2 separate regions of the Homo sapiens genome follow, and region 1 is linked to region 2. Evidence: promoter capture Hi-C in 16 types of primary human blood cells and fetal thymus (Javierre and others, 2016). All regions are on one chromosome and are shown on one strand. The core of a region is centred on a gene start or on the middle of the fragment in contact, and the rest is flanking DNA. Distances in the headings are between cores, read along the strand shown. Region 1 overlaps BID (BH3 interacting domain death agonist). Region 2 holds the start of ATP6V1E1 (ATPase H+ transporting V1 subunit E1).

What was found. The method cuts DNA at HindIII sites, captures the fragments that hold promoters and counts their contacts. A CHiCAGO score of 5 or more calls a contact.
Region 1: a fragment that was not itself captured here is called in contact with the fragment with the promoter of ATP6V1E1 in region 2 in 1 of 17 cell types (neutrophils); the score reaches 6.5 in neutrophils.

Annotation. Positions count from the first base shown.
Region 1 is chr22:17,767,422-17,771,033 of GRCh38, reverse strand. The region is part of intron 1 of BID (BH3 interacting domain death agonist); the gene reads left to right. Among named protein-coding and RNA genes, the nearest start is that of MIR3198-1, 5.0 kb to the right of the region's middle. RefSeq lists enhancers at 2,461-2,520, 2,591-2,640, 2,661-2,710. The HindIII fragment of the contact is 6,348 bases long and covers 1-3,612 here.
Region 2 is chr22:17,627,349-17,631,017 of GRCh38, reverse strand. It overlaps ATP6V1E1 (ATPase H+ transporting V1 subunit E1), which reads left to right and starts at 2,269. Exons shown (of 9, transcript NM_001696.4): 1 at 2,269-2,415. The coding sequence starts at 2,383. It also overlaps a transcript of BCL2L13 not described here. RefSeq lists enhancers at 2,144-2,313, 2,255-2,344, 2,425-2,574. The HindIII fragment of the contact is 8,319 bases long and covers 1-3,669 here.

The sequences.
Region 1 (3,612 bases), core at 1,113-3,612, 140 kb before region 2:
CTGGAAAGACACACTGTCCTAGTGGAAGCCGTGGGTGGCCTCTGTGGCTGCTGTGGCCCCAGGGGAGGAGATACCTGTCTTCTGGGGCTGCGGCTCAGTCTGGCTCCGGGTCCGGATCACCAGGGAACTTTCTGCAGAGCATCCTGCCTGGGCTTTGCCTGGTCTGCATGGGATCCCCCAGCCTGTGGCTCAGCCCGCTTCTATGCTCATAGCCATGCTGGCGCCGGGGGCAGTCCTTGGCTTCCCTCCTCGTTGGCTTAACAAACCCCCTTTCTTCAGAGGAAGGAAAGTGTGCCGTGGCCTGGTGGGACAGGCTGGGCTTGGAGGTGCCAAATGTCCTGTGTGCTTGGGGACAGCTGCTGAACCTCCCCGCCGCCGTCACGGCCCTTGGCCAAGAGCTTTCATCCAAGGCTGGCAGTAGTTGCTCTATTTCTGTTATGGGGCACCTCTGCATCTGGGTTTGGTTTAATTTGTGTAACTGAATGTCTCATTTTATTCCTCACATTCATTCTGTGAAGTTTCCCTTGTCTGGGTGAGTGTTCAGGTGACTACAACCCTGGGTCCGGGATGGGCGGTGTTCCAGGAGCTTCTGCTTGGGCCTCTCCCATTCTCCCCCAAAACCAAAGAGAAGGGAAAACCCTTTGTAAGTGGATGTCACATGTCAGGTGCTTTTTCTGATACTGCATGTGATCCCACAAGGCAGGGAGTGTCCCCTTTTACAGACGGGGAAGGTGAGATCACATTGCAGGTTCAAAGCCCGACATGACCTGTCCACCTTTACAGCTTCCCTCTCTGGGCTGGGAGTGCGTGAGGGCTTCTTAAAATGCAGATGGACTTGGGGGATTGAGCTTCTCTGGGGTTCTGGTGTTTTTGTAGGGAGAGCCATCTGGGGTCAGGGCTGGGGTGGGGACAGCAGGAGAACAGGACAGGAGTGGCAACCCAGGGCCAGGGAAGGGAGTAGGCAGGGGTAGCATATGGGGGTGGAAAGAAAGGGGCCAGTGGCACGAAGGGCCCTGGGAGGCAGCAGCGTGTCCCTCCTGGGGGTAAGTCCAGGAAGGTGGCCATCCCCGAGGAGCTCCGTTCCTGTGACAATGAGGCTAGGCCTGAGGGCACCGGAGGCCAGCGGGCAAGTGCACACCCCCAAGCCTGGCGGGGCACCACGTGACCAGGCCTGGTATTGGGACTGGGAGTGGCTCCTGCACCAGCTGGCATCTGCCTAGAGACAGGAAGGTGGGTGCCTCCTGGGTTCAGCTGGGAACTCTGAGCTTTGGGTGCTGGAGGTCACTGCGTTTGGGATGGCTGCCTCCTGGACCCAGCTGCCTCTGTGTGTGGAGTCAGTAAGGCACCGTCCTGGCTGCGGAACTGAGGCAGGCATGCTATGAGAAGATAAAATTGCCTTAACAACTGTCCCCAGGATCCTTCCAGCAGGCACTTCCTTGCTGTGCCCTGGAAAAGCGGGGTGGCACTCTGGATGACAGCACAGCCTCAGGGTGCTTCTCTGTGGCCCACACACCCTTCCGGCCTGATGGCCACGTCCGTTCCTGTTTACCCAAGCCCCACTTCCCCTGAAATCCAGGCAGGGAGAGATGGGGCCTGGCTGTGAGAAACCTGGCCCCAGGTGTCACCATTTCCCCAAAAGCCTTGTTTCTCCCTCTGGGTATCCCTGAGGACCCCTGCAGACATCCAGCCCCAAACCCGGCCAACTGAGCAGGGAGCCCAGCTAGGGGCCTTTGTGGAAGGGTCACCCGTGTACTCACACCAGCAGCCAGCCGCTCCTGGGTCATCAGCCCCTCCATAGGAGAGGGGAGGCGTTTCTGCCAGGGGCTGGGTGGCATTTCTGCCAGGCAGGGGCATGGCGTTGGCACGGCACAGGCCCTGCTGTGCTCTGTGAGGCTCTGCCCTGACTTGGACTCTGCCTGGGATGTGGTGAAAGCCTTGTTCTTTATTTATTTAGTTATTATTTATTTATTTATTTATTTATTTATTTATTTTTGAGACGAGTCTCACTCTGTCGCCCAGGCTGGAGTGCAGTGGCACGATCTCTGCTCCCTGCAAGCTCCGCCTCCCAGGTTCACGCCATTCTCCTGTCTCAGCCTCCTGAGTAGCTGGGACTACAGGCGCCCACCACCACGCCCGGCTAATTTTTTTTTTTTTTTTTTTTGAGACGGAGTCTCGCTCTGTCGCCCAGGCTAGAGTGCAGTGGCGCGATCTCGGCTCACTGCAAGCTCTGCCTCCCGAGTTTCACGCCATTCTCCTGCCTCAGCTTCCCGAGTAGCTGGGACTACAGGTGCCCACCACCATGCCGGCTAATTTTTTCTATTTTTAGTAGAGAAGGGGTTTCACCGTGTTAGCCAGGATGGTCTCGATCTCCTGACCTCGTGATCCACCCGCCTCGGCCTCCCAAAGTGCTGGGATTACAGGCGTGAGCCACCTTGCGGCCCAGCCTTGTTCTTTATGACAGAGTCTACAGAGAGTTCAGGGAGGGGCGGACCAGGAGGCTCACCAGAGGCTCACCAGGGATTCTGGAGTAGCTGAGGGACACCTGCCTTCCCCTGCCATCCACCATGCCCCACCCAGAAGCCCAGGGCCTGGGCAGGGGAGGGAGGCAGGACTCCCGGGTCACAAAGACCTGGAGCATAGGGGTCCACTGACTTCTGGGGCCTGTGGTGGAGCCTCCGACCTCTGGGAGGGGGCCCCAGTCACCTGAAGAGGCTCTTGCCTCCTCATGTCTCCTCCTGCTGGCTGCCTTTTCAAAAACCGTTTGATTGAGACATACTGCACATGCCATAAAATTCACCCATCAAAGGGCACAGTTCAGTGGCTTAGTATATACACGGTGTGCGACCGTCACCACCGCCTACAGGCAGAACATTTCAGTAACCCAAAGAGAAGCTCCAGACACACTGGTGGCTGCTCCGCAGCCCTGGCAGCCCTAATCTTTCTGTCTATGGAGTTGCACATTTAGGACATTTCATACTAATGGAATCACACACTACGTGGTCTTTTGTGACTGACTTCTTTCATGTAGCATATTTTCAACTCATGTTAACTGCTGTAACTCATGTTACAGTAGGTGTCAATGTTTCCTTCATTTTTTATTTTGTATTTTTTGTAGAGACAGGGTCTCACTGTGTTGCCCAGGTTTGCCTCAAACTCCTGGGCTCAAGTGATCCTCCTGCCTTGGCCTCCCACAGTGCTGGCCTTTTCTTGGCTACCAGAGGCAAATTCAAGCAGCAATGGAACTTTTCACTTCGCGGACGCTGTTTCTCCGTTTTCTCTCCGTGTCTCTGTTTCCCCTGCCCCTGACTCTGTGTTCTGTTGGTTTCGGGCTTACCCATGGCTTGGTGGCATCAGTGATTGAGCATTGGTTTGTGGTCATATTGTTTTGCTCATCTTTGTAGGCGGATGACAGAGATCAGTTCTCTGTGGTCAGATACGGAGAATCTGGATGATCAGACTTCGTTCTCTGTGTCCTTAGCCTCTTTTGAGCTCAATTCAATTCAGAATTTTGTGTCCACCGGGAAGGATACCTCTTTGACACCTGGTCCAGGGACTTTTCCAGTTTCTGTGTTTACTCTTGCCCTGGGGCTGAAGTTGTAATTCAGAAAGGCC
Region 2 (3,669 bases), core at 1,020-3,519:
GACTAAAAAGACATGATCACTAATGCAGTAAGTGACCCTGGATCCAATCCAGGTTATAAAGGTTATAAAGTAAGGTTATAAGAAGGTTATAAAAGGTTAAAAAGTAAGGTTATTAAAAAAAGGTTATGGCTGGGCGCGGTGGCTCACGTCTGTAATCCCAGCACTTTGGGAGGTGGAGGCAGGCAGATCACCTGAGGTCGGGAGTTCAAGACCACCCTGGCCAATGTGTTGAAACCCCATCTCTACTAAAAATGCAAAAATTAGCTGGGCGTGGTGGCAGATGCCTGTAATCTCAGCTACTGGGGAGGCTGAGGCAGGAGAATCAATTGAACCCGGGAGGCGGAGGTTGTGGTGAGCCGAGATTCTGCCACTGCACTCTAGCCTGGGCAACAGAGCGAGACTCCATCTCAAAAAAAAAAAAAAAAAGAAAAGAAAAAGAAGGCCGGGTGCAGTGGCTCACACCTGTAATCCCAGCACTCTCGGAGGCCGAGGCAGGTGGATCACGAGGTCAGCAGTTCAAGACCAGCCTGGCCAACACAGTGAAACCTCATCTCTACTAAAAATACAAAAATTAGCCATGCATGGTGGCAGGCACCTGTAATCCCAGCTGCTTGGGAGGCTGAGGGAGGAGAATCACTTGATCCCGGGAGGCAGAGGTTGTAGTGAGCTGACACCATGCCGTTGCACTGCAGCCTGGGCGACAGAGTGAGACTCTGTCTCAAAAAAAAAAGAAAGGGTTATAAAGTACATTGATGGATTGATGGGACAAAGGAATTTGTTTTTTTTTTTTTTGTTTTTTTGAGACGGAGTCTCACTCTTATTGCCCAGGCTGGAGTGCAGTGGCACGATCTTGGCTCACCGCAACCTCTGCTCCTGGGTTGAAGCAATTCTCCTGCCTCAGCCTCTCCAGTGGCTGGGATTACAGGCACACACCACCACGCCTGTTAATTTTGTATTTTTAGTAGAGACTGGGGTTTCTCCATGTTGGTCAGGCTGGTCTCGAAATCCCGACCTCAGGTGATCTGCCCACCTCAGCCTCCCAAAGTGGTGGGATTACAGGCGTGAGACACCGCGCCTGGCCCGGGACAAAGGAAATTAATGTTCAGCCTAGTAAACTAAATTTCCTGAATTTGCTACATCCTCGTTCTTATGACACACTAAAATAGGAAGTGTGTGTGTGTGTGTGTGTGTGTGTGTGTATGAAAATAAAGTGTTAATGTACATGTAGCAAAATGTTAACAATTGTTGAATCTAGGTGAAGGGAGGTCAATGCAGTATTCTTACAAGTTACTATATCTCAAATTTCTTCAAGATAAAAAGCTAATAAAAATGGTGGGTAACCATAGCACAGTAAAAAGAAAAAAGTGGGTGTACCATTTGACCTCTTATTCTACTATTAGGAGTCAGTCTATCCTAAAGATAAAGGAATTTTCAAAAGTTTTTGCCTTTGGGATTTTGGGGAAAAAAACGGGCTTGAGGTAAATCCAAATAAAAACAAATGAGCCTGGGGGGATTTCTGTCCTAATATTCCTCTAAATGGGACCTGGGAAGGCTTTTGAAAAATATATAGGCTATCTCAGAAAAGTTCCAAATAAATTATGTAGCTGCTCCACCCTAATAAGGAAGTTGAGCATAGCTTCCCACTCCCTAGGTGTGGGCTTTGTATAGTGGCTTCCTTCCTAAGACTACAGTATGGAAAGGGGGTTAAAAAAGGTAACTTCAGAGTGGAGAAACCTACAAACCCTACACTTTATTCAGGTAATCAAGGTTGACATGAATAGTCAGAAATCATGTATCCCCCTTTTTTTTTTCTTTTGGTAGAGACGGGGTTCCTCTATGTTGTCCAGCCTGGTCTCGAACTTGAGGTCAAGCGATACACCCGCCTTGGTCTCCCAAAGTCTCCGGATTGCAGGCGTGAGCCACCACGCCCGGCCAACAATCATGTACCCCTAAGCCCATAACCCTGTGTAATTATGCGAAAAATTCCAATAAAGGCACATTCTCCAATATACCTAACCAGTACTCCTCAAAACAGCCCGACTAATTTCAGATAGAGGAACTCCTTATCTTTTCTTCCTCCTACCCAAGATCCCAGTTTAGGAAAAAAATACCGGTCAGGTCACGAGTCAGCGACGTAGAAGGACCCGAGGACGCGCCCACAGGCCGGGACAGGGCGGGACTTCCTGGGCGTCGCTCTCTTCCCATTGGCTGAGAAGGGTCATGAGGATGAACTGTGCAGTCACCTGGCAGGAACCGGAACCCGCGGTTATAAAGTAAAGGAACCCGAGATCTGCGCAGGGGTTCCCTTTGCCGATTTCTCTCACCTCACCTTTCAAACCTAAACTCGAGCCTACTGTTCACCGGCCTAGCATTGCTCTCGCCATGGCTCTCAGCGATGCTGACGTGCAAAAGCAGGTGAGGGGCTTGGTTGGGTCTTACGAAGCCGCGGCGGCAGTCCCGGGGAGTGGGCTGGAGCCCGCCTAGGGAAGGCCGCGGGCCTTGAGCCGCCCAGATGCCGCAGGAAGGTCCCTTGCTCCAAGTCACCAGATCCAAGAGGTCGGCCTGAGGACGGAGATTTGCCCCGCAGCTCATGTGACTTTTGCTCGGGTCTTGGGCACTGCCCGCTTGCCTGCGCGCTGCCTTCTTGAACGCCCTGGCTCTTTGCCTCCCACCTCAGCATTCCCTGTTTTCCAAGGGTATTCACTGTGCCTAGTCGGACAGAGATCTGTGCAAGGATTGAAAACAGCCTTGTGGCCAGGGGCAGTGGCTCACGCCTGTAATCCCAGTATTTTGGGAGGCCGAGGCGGCCGGATCACCTGAGGTCAGGAGTCCGAGACTAGCCTGGCCAAAATGGTGAAACCCCGGTCTCTACTAAAAATAGAAAATTAGCCGGACGTGGTGGCGCGCGCCTGTAATCCCAGCTACTCGGGAAGCTGAACCCGGAGGCGGAGGTTGCAGTTAGCCGAGATCGCGCCTTTGCACTCCAGCATGGGCGACAGGGCGAGACTCCCTCTGGAAAAAGAAAAAAAAAAAACAAACCAGCCTTGTCACTTTTTTTTTTTTTAACCCTGAGGGAAATGCTTAAGGCTATATGATAGGAAACAGTGCGGAGGGAAGAGACCTGCTTCCAACCAGTGTTTTGACAAGGTCGTTCACTTTATGAACTGTGTTTTTTTCTTTTTTTCTTTTTTTTTTTTTTGAGACGGAGTCTCACTCTGTCGCCCAGGCTGGAGTGCAAGGGCGCGATCTCGGCTCACTGCAACCTCCGCCCCGGGTTCAAGTGATTCTCCTGCCTCAGCCTCCCTAGAAGCTGGGATTACAGACTCGCGCCCCAAGCCCGGCTAATTTTTGTATTTTTTTTAGTAGAGGCAGGGTCTCACCATATTGGCCTGGCTGGTCTTGAACTCCTGACCTCAGGTGATCTTCCCACCTGGGCCTCCCAAAGTGCTGGGATTACAGGCATGAGCCAACGCGCCAGGCCTGTATGTACTGTTAATCTTCATTTTGGGGAAGTCCCCTCTATCATAATGGATTGTAATGATTGGTCTCCCACTAATGTGTGTGTTAACATTTGTGAGATACAGGCTGGGGCCGGGCATGGTGGCTCACGTCTGTAATACCAGCACTTTGGGAGGCTGAGGAGGGCGGATCACCTGAGGTCAGGAGTTC